Linked DNA regions of Homo sapiens: region 1 is linked to region 2. The links are contacts of gene promoters, found by promoter capture Hi-C in human tissues and cell types (Jung and others, 2019). All regions are on one chromosome and are shown on one strand. Each heading gives the region's core, a stretch centred on a gene start or on the middle of the fragment in contact. The rest is flanking DNA. Distances are from core to core; before and after follow the strand shown.

Region 1 (6,636 bases), core at 236-2,735, 210 kb after region 2:
TTCACTGTTACCCAAGTAAACACAAGCACCTATTAGTCACCCACTCAAAACAGAAATGGTCAATGAGGGATGCAAGATCAGCCATCAATGCCAGAAAAGAAAGCACACTGCTTTCAAAATCTCATTTTTTTATTATCACTGGTTTACTGTGCATTGCCGGAAAGCCACTACTGAACTTCTTGTGGGAAAATGTCACTGGCACGGATCACTAAATAGTTTTTAAAACTTTTATGACCAAAACCTAACTTGAAGACCCACACAGATGCATAGTATGATGATAACACTTTCTCTAGAAAAGCAATTCAATGATACTTAGCTATTGATTCCTAACAGCAGAAATCCACAAGAACTGAATTAAGAGAGTTAGCTAGGCCGATGGGCATGGACCAGGCTGTGGGGCCTTTGTTTTTTATTGGCTTCTCACCCACTCTGCCAGCTACTCATCCGAAGCCTTTAAGATGTTTTCTAGACACACATCTCTGAATCATAATGCAAATTCCATTTACTGAAAGGTGGGGACTTTTAATACAACAAGTGAACCCATTTAATGACTTATGCTTTTATATCTTATAGCATCACTCATGCTTTCAAAAAGTGGATATAATTTTCTTTGCATTACCCTATTATTAATATAGTACTATGAATATATATTTTCAATCACATTATATAAATTTTTTATTTTCTCCAGCTATGATTCTATTATGAAAATGCTCCAGATAGCTAGGATAGCAAAAATAATCACCAAAATAATCAACTCACATTTACCCCTTTCTCCTTTCTGACTAATCAAATTCTCTGAGAACTGAGATTTTCTTGTTTTTAAATGCCTTTTTAAAGAGTAATAATTTCTCTTATTTTAAATGTTGTTTGATTGGTGCTTCCATTTTTTTCAATACGAGAACTATTACTGTTATTTAGGTATTTACCATAAGTCTTTTTATTATACTTGAAATAACTTATTTGTAAGCTTAATCGGTACTATATTACAAAAAATGAGTTTAAAAAACTATCTTACCTCCCTCAACTAAACTTTTACTACTTGTTGCTATTTATAAAATATGATTTGGTTCTTACAATGTAAAGAAAACATAATACTTGAAAATAATTGGAAACCAGAAAAAATTACAATAAGCCAAGATTCCTATTTCTGCTCTAATGCTTTGATAATGAGTTAAAGGCAAGGAAAAATAAAATCACACATGGAGCTGAAGTAATGCAACAATTTCTTGGATAATCCAATCTCTAATATTATTAGTATCTAAAATGCTAACCAGGCCCAACCCCTCCTCCTAAATAAGGCATTGAAAAGAAATACAACAGGAAGATCATACTGCCATCAATGGTACTAACATTATTTCTTCATGTCTTTTTCTAAAAAGGTAAGCTTGCTTGAAACCATGTTTCAACATCATACACTAGAAATCCCTAAAATTATTAGAAGTGGTCATTCGAAACTCTGTCACTTTTCACAGATAGCCCACAGATCATACGTCAACAGTTTCCATTAAATAGCTTTTGTATTGTTATCCAAGAGAGAATCCTCATTGTAATTGTATAATCCTAGTTTCATTAAAGTCAGTTTTATATTTTTTGCATTTTAGTAAAAATCTCAGGCGTTTCTTTGAAATTCACAATTCCTACGTTGCATGTTCCAAATCAGTCTTAAATCCACTCAGTAACATAAAGCAATAATATAGAGATTCTGCTAAAAATATTAAACTTCAAATAAATATTTTTAAGAGCTTGACATAGCAATAAGAATGTTAAGACAGACCGAGTTTCTAGGGATTCCATCACAGAAATCACTAGAATTTTGAAATGTGGGTTTGTTGCCATGAAACGTGTTTCAAGCATAGTTTTGACAGATAACGTACCTCTTCCACTTCGACCGACAAACCTGAGGTCATTAAATCTTGCAACCTGGTTCTTCATGGCTGCGGTAGCATTTCTCAGCTCAGCCGAGTAGTTTTCATCATTGCCAGCCATCACAGTGACCAGAGTGCCATCTGGAACATCCCCTAGGGCCACCACCTAAACACCAGTCAAAGGACAAATGCAGACATCAGGGATGTTATACATACACTTTTAGGGCATTTGTGTAGTGATTATTCTAAAATTAAATGTATATTCAATGATTTCTTTTTAGGTTGCAGAGGAATAGCAATGATAACTTAAGCAAAACAACAGAAAAGTTATAAAGAGAAGACACTTTTTTATTATATTTTAGGTTGGTGCAAAAGTAATTGCAGTGTTTGCAATTTTTAACTCCAAAAACTGCAGTTACATTTGCACCAACCTAATACATTATGTATAACTATATGTAAATTTTCAAATAGTGACACATATACTAAATTTACCTCATAAAGCCATAGTAGGTCACATAGCACAGTTGGAACAAGACTAACCATAGCAAGATATCAAGGATTTTGAGTAGCTATGCCGTCTCCTGAATACAAGCATCTCTTCTTAATTTCTCCCGTTTGAGAAACAGAACATCCTGTGTTTGTAAGTTTATAATCCAACCCATCTTTTACTTGCTCAGACCTCCACTAACAGGCTGAACAAGGTGCAGACTTTACTTTTAGAAAATAAAACAAAACAAAAAAACACAAAAAAACCCAATTTCTGCTAAAAGTAGATTTCATCTTGCTGACGATTCTTAAGTAACTTAAACTGTCCCTCTACAGTTCATCTTTGATACCTCCTACTCATCGCTATTATCTTGAGTTTTACTAGCAATGAATTCTAGCACACAAGAAAAAAAAATCAGAAATGCACCCTTCGTTTACTAATTACAAAATCAACAGACCTCAGAAAGACGGGACATTCACTTCTATGCACTCCCCTCAATTCAGGGGTGGAATTGGGTTGCATTTTTGTATCTGTGAGTCTCAGCGTGTGTAAACTCATGTCCTCACAGATGCCTGAGGTTTTCTGCTAGCCCAGCTGATCTTGACCAGGAATTTATTTAATGTAACTGAGTAAGTATGAAGTCTTATCAGGGCTATTGGAGAAAACTGGTAGATAAATGTTTTTATACTCAGGTAATTAAGAAAATGAATTCCAAAGTAAAATACTCTGAAAAGCATGACCTAAAGATACTTTGTACAATAGCATCAATTTCTTGGCTATCATTTAGGCCTTCTAGAAACTATTTTCTTGGTCTAGACATTTACTATTGGCTGTATTTCCTTTGTTTCTATTTTTCAAAGCAGTCATACAACTTCAAATCGAAATGCCCCAAGCTGTATTTATTCTGATCATTTCTGACATTCTTTACGGTAAAGTCAGTAGTGACATTTATATTACTCATTCCAATTACATCATCATTTTTGGTTGCTGTTTTTGAATTGGTAACAGTAAAGCATTCCTTAATCTAGTGTTATCACTCCTTCCTCTGCCTCCTACTTCCCAATTTTTACCTTAATAACTGCTACATAATTTTTTGTAGTATATATTTTCAGGCCTCTTTTTCTATATGTAAAAAAGGCTGCCATAGACTCACTTGTATGATATCGAAGTCATGTTTCTCAAGATTCCCATTTTCATGATCTGCTTAGCCATCACCCTTTCCCTGTGGCCTCCAGATGACTATCTATTGTTTTTATTCATTAGAACTGCTTCAGTCCTTGTGGCACAGAACACGAACTAACTCACTATGAGAGATGAACATACTTCCAACCCCAAGACTACACCAGGATAATCTAGTCTCATAGAAGCAGGGAGGCATTTTCCTCTATTTTATCCAACTTGCACTGCCAAACAAGGTCTGGGCCTTTTCTCTCTTTTTAATCCTTTCATTCCAATTGTTGGACATGTTTTCCATATAGGAGATTTTAAAACTCTGCTATTTATTCCCCAAGCACCCTCTAATTAGCTATTTAGTTCCCATTATAAGTGTGTTTGTTGCCATTTAATTAAGAGCAGTGATACGACAATTCCCTTTTTGTTTTAAAAAGATATCACGGAAATAAATCTCCCTGATCAGTTATTTGGTTATTGCTACTGTTTTTTTTTTTTTTCTATTCCCGAAAAATGGGCTTGCTTTATTTTGCTCTTTTTAGTCTCTCACAACAAATTTTCCCCTTTTTTTCATGATTTTCACTTCCCGTTGTAAAGTTAGCTCACAGTGTTGAAATGCCCTCTTTGAACACATATTTTTACTTCCTCATCCTCCTCTCCCTGTGGTAACCCAGGCTTCTCTATTGTAACTCAACATTCAGCAGGTATACAGAGACTGCCTCCACTACGTGGGTTTCAAACTGAATAACTCATTGTTGGGTCTGGATCTGTAAAAAGGTGAAAATAAATAAATCTTCTTTTATAACTACAGGAATGTATTCTGAATTATCTGCCTCCTACTGCTGTTCCCCTCACAGTGCTCCAAGCCTGTGCCTCTCTCATCTTTCCAATACTATCCTCATTGGTAATTTGGCAAATTCAGGAGACCTTCGCCAAGTCGAAACAAACATAGAATAAAATTATCATGGAGGCTAAATAAGAAAAGGCTGTTGATGTTGGAACTTAAGAAGAAAAAAATTAGAAGTTTAACTCCCACTCCTCTTTTTTTTTAAATGCAGCAGAATCAACCATATTTGGGCACCTACATATCATTCACTTGGCCTTGTATTGATCTCTGAGGGTTTTTTTTTGGTGGAGGCGGGTGGGTAAAGGGGAACTAGTAAATCCAGGGCAATTCATTAATACTGTATATCGTCCAATTGTTAACAAGCATACTTAAGCCAGGTTTAAAAAGTTTCTTTTTAATTCAAAACTAACATGCGTGCTAATTTGATACAGGTTTTGTCACTGATGGGCAATATGGAGAGAATGTAAAAATATCTAACTTCAAACAGAAAAAAGAAACAACTGGAATGAAAAGCTATAAACAATAGGTAAGGAAACACAAACATTTACATTTTAACACAGACCAAACAGGCAAGAAGGGACTTGCTGGCCAAAGATATCTCATATTTTGTTTTACTTCTCTGTTTTTAAAGTATCAGGAAGTTGGGCCAAATATCAACTCTCTTCTATATTACATGGACCTCCCAATACTGTTCTTGGCTAGCCTGTTCACGGTCCAAACTGGCATTTTAAACCAATTCTAATTAGGTTGAAATTACAGTTACAATTCATTTACTTCAAATCCGTTAACCTTCCAGTGTTGCAAAGAAGGCTGTGGAGTGGAACACAGAATTCAGCTGAGATGATATTTAAGGCATAGCTAGGGACTGTGATCTTGCCGACAAAAATATTACTTATTTCCTTTTTATGAAAAGAATATTACCATCAGAATCCAAGACCTCCGAACTTCCCTGCTGAAGGCACGTTTACGTCTTTGGACTCTGGTGTACCAGGGCCTGAACAAGCTATAACACCATGGTATTACCAAATACATCCTAAGTCATCAAAACAGCTTTTTAGGCTAATTCTGTAAGTACAGCAAAACACACAGCAAACTTAAGGTTTTCTTAGTAGTAAAAAACATGTATCTCTCATACTGTAAAAAATAAAGGTGTTCCATGGGAGGGAAGGAGTAGGGGGAGAACAGGTTGGGGCTCAAAATAAGCAAGTAGGGTTATTGTAATCTATTTTAAAGAAAATTCATAATTTTAAATCTCTCTTTAGTTCAGAAGATTGACGTAGAGGATTTACCTACAGAACTTCAGGAGATTCCTAAGAAGGCCTTCAGTGATCTTTTCATCAATATCATCAGGCCTTATCATTGTTTCACATTTGCTTCTCTTTACCATAGGGAATATAATAATTATTTACTGGTTAACTTCCTAGGGAGATTGCCTGCGGCTTATTTAAGATCCAAATTTTAAAGTAATAATTTCTGTTGAAGCTGCTTGTGAGGTGGTTGGGTGGGCAGATAGAGTGAAGCCAGGGACACACACTAAATGAGCCCGGGATGTAGGCAGGTTTTGATGTTTTGCTTGCTTTTATCCCTAACATTTTATCCCTTCACGTTTACTGTCTCACTGAACATTTTGTCTACTCTTCTAGTTATGCAGTGAGCAGGTCTCCTCCAGGAAGAAGCCTCTTTTTATGAGGATTGGGGTGGTGACAGACAATAATCAAATGGTCTGATTTCTCTGCTATCCTTTCCTTTCCCCTAAATGTTCTCAGGGGATCTGCTTGAACTTTTTTCAAGAGCTCTGTATTTGGATTTTTAGTAGCCTATAGATTATCACTCAATAAAACAAATTAATTGTTTTTAAGTGAATTGCCAAAAGTCATTTTAAAAAGGAAACTCTATGGTTATTATGGTTTCTGCTAGAAAGAATTCTGACAGCTCATAAAAGCAATATGTATAATTTTTCATTTTTTAGAAGAAAATAAATACTTTCATGTAATGGCTTGAGACTCTGAATTGCTCCAATTCCTGAAGATTATTTATTAATCATTTAGTCTTTTAATATATTTGAGTGTGGGTTCCCTGGCAGAGGAGGGAGTTCAGAAGAGACCCTGATTTCCCCCCCAAAAGGAAGCCACAAATCTCTTAGAGCCCTAGTGCATTGGGGCAGCCAGGTTTTAATGGCCTTTGGTGGTTATCAGCCCGTCTTGCCTCTGCTCTTTATCTGATAGTGACCCCATGGCCCAACCCTGTTGGGTCCCCTCTCAATGCGG
Region 2 (6,537 bases), core at 3,438-5,937:
ATGGCAGAAGGACTGTATAATTATTAAAAGTTACTTAAATATCAACGCTTTCATTTCTTGTCATCCACCTCTGAATCTGTCACCTCTGTTTAACCCTCCCTGGTATTTAAATAGCTAATCTAGTGTTGGAGGCCAGGTTAACAACGTGCACGTCTCTAAGTGACTTCATAGCGACCTTCACACGTCTATTTATTTGGTATTTCCTTTGTGTTCCTTTATATGAACTGACTGAGCCCTTGCTAATAATTAAAAGAATTTGCTAAAGTATTCTTTTGGCAAAGTCAGTAGATAAGAATTTCTGTAAGTGGCTCATGCCTGTAATCCCAGCACTTTGGGAGGCCGAGGCGGGTGGATCACGAGGTCAGGAGATCGAGACCATCCTGGCTAACACGGTGAAACCCTGTCTCTACTAAAAATACAAAAAATTAGCCGGGCGTGGTGGAGGGCACCTGTAGTCCCAGCTACTCGGGAGGCTGAGGCAGGAGAATGGCATGAACCCAGGAGACGGAGCTTGCAGTGAGCCGAGATAGCACCACTGCCGTCTGGCCTGGGCAAAAGAGTGAGACTCCGTCTCAAAAAAAAAAAAAAGAATTTCTGTGAATAGTGTGTCTTGTGACATTAGCTTGCCCACCAAAGTATAAAACTAACTGAGAAAAGTATTTTCCAAAACTAGTTCAGGTTGGTGCATATGTATTTGAAGGCACGTGTGTATTCACTCATTCAGGAAATATTTATGGAGCTCTACTATGTGCCTGGTCTATCCTAGGCAATGACAAGCAAAAACCCCTGCTTTCACAGAATCACCATCCTAGTGGGGTGAGGTAGGGCAGACAGATAACAACTAGAATATATTATGTGTCAGATGAAGATAACTGCTATGGGGGAAAATAAGGCAGAGAAGGATGCCAGAGAGTAGGGGTTGTGTTTTAAAATGGAATGCTTGGGGCGGGCATGGTGGCTCATGCCTGTAATCCAAGTACTTTGGGAGGCCAAAGCAGGCGGATCACGAGGTCAAGAGATCGAGTCCATCCTGGCCAACATGGTGAAACCCCATCACTACTAAAAAAAATACAAAAATTAGCTGGATGTGGTGCCATGCGCCTGTAGTCCCAGATACTCGGGAGGCTGAGGCAGGAGGATCACTTGAACCTGGGAGCTGGAGGCTTCAGTGAGCCGAGATCACACCACTGCACTCTAGCCATTTTATAAAAGTAAAATGGAGTGCTTGGGGAAAATAATTAATCAGAGACTGCAGCAAGGTAAGGGAGTAAGCCATGAGAATATAGGGGGCATCCCAGGCAGAGGCCCAGCAAGTTCTAGGGACGGCAAGCAGGCTGGTGTTTTAGGGGCTGCAGAAGTCTAGTAAGCCAGAAAGAGACTGGGATTGCCTGATTTTATAGGACCTTATACTTCATGCATAAAGACTTGACTTTTTCTTACTGTGAGACAGAAAACCTTTGAAAGATTTTGAGCATAAAAGTGGCATGGTCTGATTCATGATTTCCAAAGAGGATCAGCTGGCTGTGGAGTGGAGAGCAGACTGTCGAAGGCCAGGAACTAGTTAGGAGGTGGTGGCAATAATCTAGGTGACAGGAGGTGATGGTGACTTGGACTGGTACAGTGGTAATGGAGATAGAGAGAAGAGGTTGGATTTTACGTGTGTGAGTGTGTGTGTGTGTGTGTGTGTGTTTGTGTACTTTCTAGTGATGGCATCTCACTATGCTGCTTCCAAGCTGGTCTAGAACTCCTGGGCGCAAGTGATTCTCCTGCTTCAGCCTCCCGAGTAGCTGGGACTACAGGTGCACCACCATGCCTGGCTTTGGGTATATATTTTTAAAAAGTGAAGCCAGTTGGATTTACTGGCAGGTTGGATGTAGGGTTTGGAAGAAAAGAGCTAAGGTTTTCAGTTTGGGCATGTCTGTGCACACGTTGGCATATGTGTCTACATAAAGCTTAATGTTATCCAAAATTATCTCATTTCTTTTTTTACTTATTTTATTTTTATTTTTTTTTTGCTTTATACCATTTGAAGAGGGACCTTCCCAGTCTTGTTTATTGCTGTATATCCAGTGTCTGGAACAATCTGTCTCTTTCTCTTTCTCTCTTAAAAGAAAGTATTTAGCTATCGGTAATGTGGTTACAGAAAAATTGTAAGGAGCTGTTATTTTCTGTCTTCTGCATTTTCAGCATTGAGCCTGCATTTATTTAAAAACAAACTTTATTTAATTTCAGAAGATTGAACAAATTTGCAAAATTATATAATAGAAAATTTTAAAATGCTTATTATCATTAAGTGAAAAATTCTACATTCTGCAGACAGAATGTTATTTTGAGAGCCAATGTTAATGTGAGTAAATGACCCCAAACCCTATAAAAGAATAAATCCAAACCCTATAAGATCAAATAGCCTTGTGTGATCCACAGGATCAGTTTCCAGGACAGAATAGACTTTATTAGCATTGTTTTTCTGCAAGGACATTATTCAGGCCAGTTCTCAGCCACTCAGCCAACAGCTTTGTTTCCGACTGTGCCAAGTCTGCAAACAGTAGCTGATCATCTTTAGCTCAATTCAAAAGGAGGTTTTTCTAGATATTCCAACCACACCCCCCCCCAATAGCCAGCACATTTCTATCAAGTTTGATTGAGTTAGAGTTTATGAAATATTTCCTGAATGACTGAATACACACGTGCCTTCAAATACATATGCACCAACCTGAACTAGTTTTGGAAAATACTTTCCTCAGTTAGTTTTATACTTTGGGGGGTAAGCTAATGTCACAAGACACTCTATTGACAGAAATTCTTATCTACTGACTTTGCTAAAAGAATTTGCTAAATATTATTACTCGCATGAGTGTCTTTAATTTGGTTCTTTGTAAACATTGAGCATTGAAGACGGTTTGTTATTAAGGACAAAGTTATGTATCTAACTAATCTCACATTTTTCTAAGCAGCGCAAATAAACCCAGAGCCCTTCAATGGTTCACAGGTCCACAATCCTTTTATACACATTCTGAAATCCTAAAAGGCTCTGAATACTGAAAGCTGTTTTGGGAACTCATCTAGAATCAGAACCAGAAAGGCTTGAACTCAGCTGGAGGTGAACCTAAACTGGGGGTGGGGGGCCTGAAGCTTGTATGATTTTACCATATCTCACCAAATGTGATGCCTGTCTTACTGCAGAAATATTAATGTGTTTGATCACAAAGTGATGTTCTGTGTTATGTAATATACAGTAAAATCACTCAATCATCTTTCTAACAATTCTGTTTTCTGAAACACATCCGGGCTCATGGGATTTGCATAAAGCACTGTAAACCTGTACTGTGTTTGCTGTTCCGGGCTGAACGTGCTGGCTTCATCTTTCTTTACAAGATAAGGGTGATGGCTGCTACCTTGCCCCGGTGAATGCAGCAGGATTCCTTTTCTAGGTGCCTAGAGCTTTTACGGCTCACGTGCATCTCTGGCTCACCTGTGTGAGTGTCATGCTTTGACTAGATGCCACTTTGTGGTGATGAAGCTTCTGGCCTGTACCTACCCAGACAGAGCACAGCCTTGGAGAAAGGTAGCATGAAGCTGAGTGTCTCTGGGCTCCTGTCCTGTCATCCATCAGTGATGAGCAATGGGAAGTAGAAGGAGACACATTATGTTCATGGCCAAAGGTGTGACCCCAAGCCACATCAAAGGCACACCCAGCTCTTTCAACGAAAACAACCTTCTGTGGGCATGAGGGGCTCATGTATCTTAGGCCAATATCAAAGCCATATAAAGCCTGATGAATCAAGTCAGTCTTGAGCTGGGATCCCCGTTCCACCACATTTACATAGTGCCACCTTGGGTAACCCAGTTTCTTGGTAACCCACTAGAAGTAGCCTGGCTTATAATAAACTTACGACATACTTTTCACCATAATAACTTCCTTTTTAAAGTAGGTATTGGGTCTGTGATCCTGGGAGAACCCTAACCCAGGGAATTCCATAGCTCCCCTCTTTCACATCTTGGATTTTCTTTTCTCCACCTCCAGATTCCCAAGCTCTTAACTTGGAGGCAGAAGCACTGGTGGTGAGTTTAGAAATCTAGGAGAATCAGCAAGATACACAGACTCTTACAGTCTTAAGAGACCCGGGAGATGAAGGTGTAACCTTTTTCCAGCGCAGGGCTCCCACGATCCTCCAGACAGGCCCGGAGAAGCGGACCCTCATGGACAACAGCGCCCATCTCTGGTCAGAGAAACTCGACTGGCTCCTTGTGCGTCTATATGAGGGGCCTCTGGAACCTCTCCGGGGGCCCTGCAGACATGGGAAGGCGGCCAGCGTAGCCTCCCCAGCTTCTTCTCTCAGGGATTTACACCCTTGCTCTTGGACATCAGGCACAATGTGGACATCTTCAGTTGGGTACCGGGGGAGCTTGATGCTTCACTCCTGGGGTAAGGTGGGGATTAGGTGTTTGGGTGTCGGGGTGTGTGTTTGGAGGGGGTGATTTAAGTGACTCTGGAACTTGAAGCCATTCTAGAGAACAACACCCAAGCGGCCAGGAGAACCAGAATCTTTTCATCAACATCCACAAGGGTCACGAGAAAGGCTGTCATTGGCCAAGCTCCTAGGCTACCCAAACAAAGGAGGGAGGAGGGGAAGACAAACCCCGCCCAAGCCCCAGGGGATGGAGTTGGCACCAAGGACTTCTGGTCAACCCCAGGACAGCGGACAGCGGGCCGGGCACTTCCAAAGGCGCAGGAGCGAAGCAGCCCTCTCCAGCCGTGCACTGCACCTCCGCGGCCCGCGGGCGAGATTGGGGTCCCGGTGGGAAGCAGACGCGCAATCGGGGAGAAGCTCCAGCAGTGGAGGAAGAGTCCAGGGAGTTTCAGCTGGGCAGAAGGGGCGCAGAGGCTTGGGGCCAAGCGGAGTTTGCCCTGCGGGTCCTGCGCAAGGCCCCAGTGCCCCGGCTAAACCTTTGCCGCAGGATCCCGGAGCCGGCGTCCTTCAAGGAGCACAGAGGGCCCCGTAGCACGCCCCTTGCCCAGCGCCACCGACCCTTAAGCAGCGTCAAGGAAGGAGTCCCGATCAAGGACAGGGATCTGCGGCCATGGCCGAGGCCGCGGAGCCGGAGGGGGTTGCCCCGGGTCCCCAGGGGCCGCCGGAGGTCCCCGCGCCTCTGGCTGAGAGACCCGGAGAGCCAGGAGCCGCGGGCGGGGAGGCAGAAGGGCCGGAGGGGAGCGAGGGCGCAGAGGAGGCGCCGAGGGGCGCCGCCGCTGTGAAGGAGGCAGGAGGCGGCGGGCCAGACAGGGGCCCGGAGGCCGAGGCGCGGGGCACGAGGGGGGCGCACGGCGAGACTGAGGCCGAGGAGGGAGCCCCGGAGGGTGCCGAGGTGCCCCAAGGAGGGGAGGAGACAAGCGGCGCGCAGCAGGTGGAGGGGGCGAGCCCGGGACGCGGCGCGCAGGGCGAGCCCCGCGGGGAGGCTCAGAGGGAGCCCGAGGACTCTGCGGCCCCCGAGAGGCAGGAGGAGGCGGAGCAGAGGCCTGAGGTCCCGGAAGGTAGCGCGTCCGGGGAGGCGGGGGACAGCGTAGACGCGGAGGGCCCGCTGGGGGACAACATAGAAGCGGAGGGCCCGGCGGGCGACAGCGTAGAGGCGGAGGGCCGGGTGGGGGACAGCGTAGACGCGGAAGGTCCGGCGGGGGACAGCGTAGACGCGGAGGGCCCGCTGGGGGACAACATACAAGCCGAGGGCCCGGCGGGGGACAGCGTAGACGCGGAGGGCCGGGTGGGGGACAGCGTAGACGCGGAAGGTCCGGCGGGGGACAGCGTAGACGCGGAGGGCCGGGTGGGGGACAGCGTAGAGGCGGGGGACCCGGCGGGGGACGGCGTAGAAGCGGGGGTCCCGGCGGGGGACAGCGTAGAAGCCGAAGGCCCGGCGGGGGACAGCATGGACGCCGAGGGTCCGGCAGGAAGGGCGCGCCGGGTCTCGGGTGAGCCGCAGCAATCGGGGGACGGCAGCCTCTCGCCCCAGGCCGAGGCAATTGAGGTCGCAGCCGGGGAGAGTGCGGGGCGCAGCCCCGGTGAGCTCGCCTGGGACGCAGCGGAGGAGGCGGAGGTCCCGGGGGTAAAGGGGTCCGAAGAAGCGGCCCCCGGGGACGCAAGGGCAGACGCTGGCGAGGACAGGGTAGGGGATGGGCCACAGCAGGAGCCGGGGGAGGACGAAGAGAGACGAGAGCGGAGCCCGGAGGGGCCAAGGGAGGAGGAAGCAGCGGGGGGCGAAGAGGAATCCCCCGACAGCAGCCCACATGGGGAGGCCTCCAGGGGCGCCGCGGAGCCTGAGGCCCAGCTCAGCAACCACCTGGCCGAGGAGGGCCCCGCCGAGGGTAGCGGCGAGGCCGCGCGCGTGAACGGCCGCCGGGAGGACGGAGAGGCGTCCGAGCCCCGGGCCCTGGGGCAGGAGCACGACATCACCCTCTTCGTCAAGGTAAAGCTCGCTTCCCTCAATTCTTAGGACGACCCCCTTCCATTCGAGGTCTTGGTCATCTCAGATCCCAGAGGGACGCGC

Evidence for each region. The method cuts DNA at HindIII sites, captures the fragments that hold promoters and counts their contacts. A contact is called where the count stands out against the background at its distance.
Region 1: a contact is called between a fragment that was not itself captured here and the fragment with the promoter of CLIC6 in region 2, in 1 of the 25 tissues and cell types used here (lymphoblastoid cells).

The regions. Positions count from the first base shown.
Region 1 is chr21:34,878,683-34,885,318 of GRCh38, forward strand. RUNX1 (RUNX family transcription factor 1) reads right to left here. Exons shown (of 9, transcript NM_001754.5): 5 at 1,875-2,031. RUNX1-AS1 (RUNX1 antisense RNA 1) reads left to right here. Exons shown (of 2, transcript NR_186614.1): 2 at 4,801-6,370. Among named protein-coding and RNA genes, the nearest start is that of RUNX1-AS1, 46 kb to the left of the region's middle. RefSeq lists a silencer at 4,241-4,290. The HindIII fragment of the contact is 5,344 bases long and covers 1-4,157 here.
Region 2 is chr21:34,664,307-34,670,843 of GRCh38, forward strand. It overlaps CLIC6 (chloride intracellular channel 6), which reads left to right and starts at 4,688. Exons shown (of 6, transcript NM_053277.3): 1 at 4,688-6,456. The coding sequence starts at 5,083. RefSeq lists silencers at 4,981-5,420, 6,321-6,400. The HindIII fragment of the contact is 4,429 bases long and covers 3,327-6,537 here.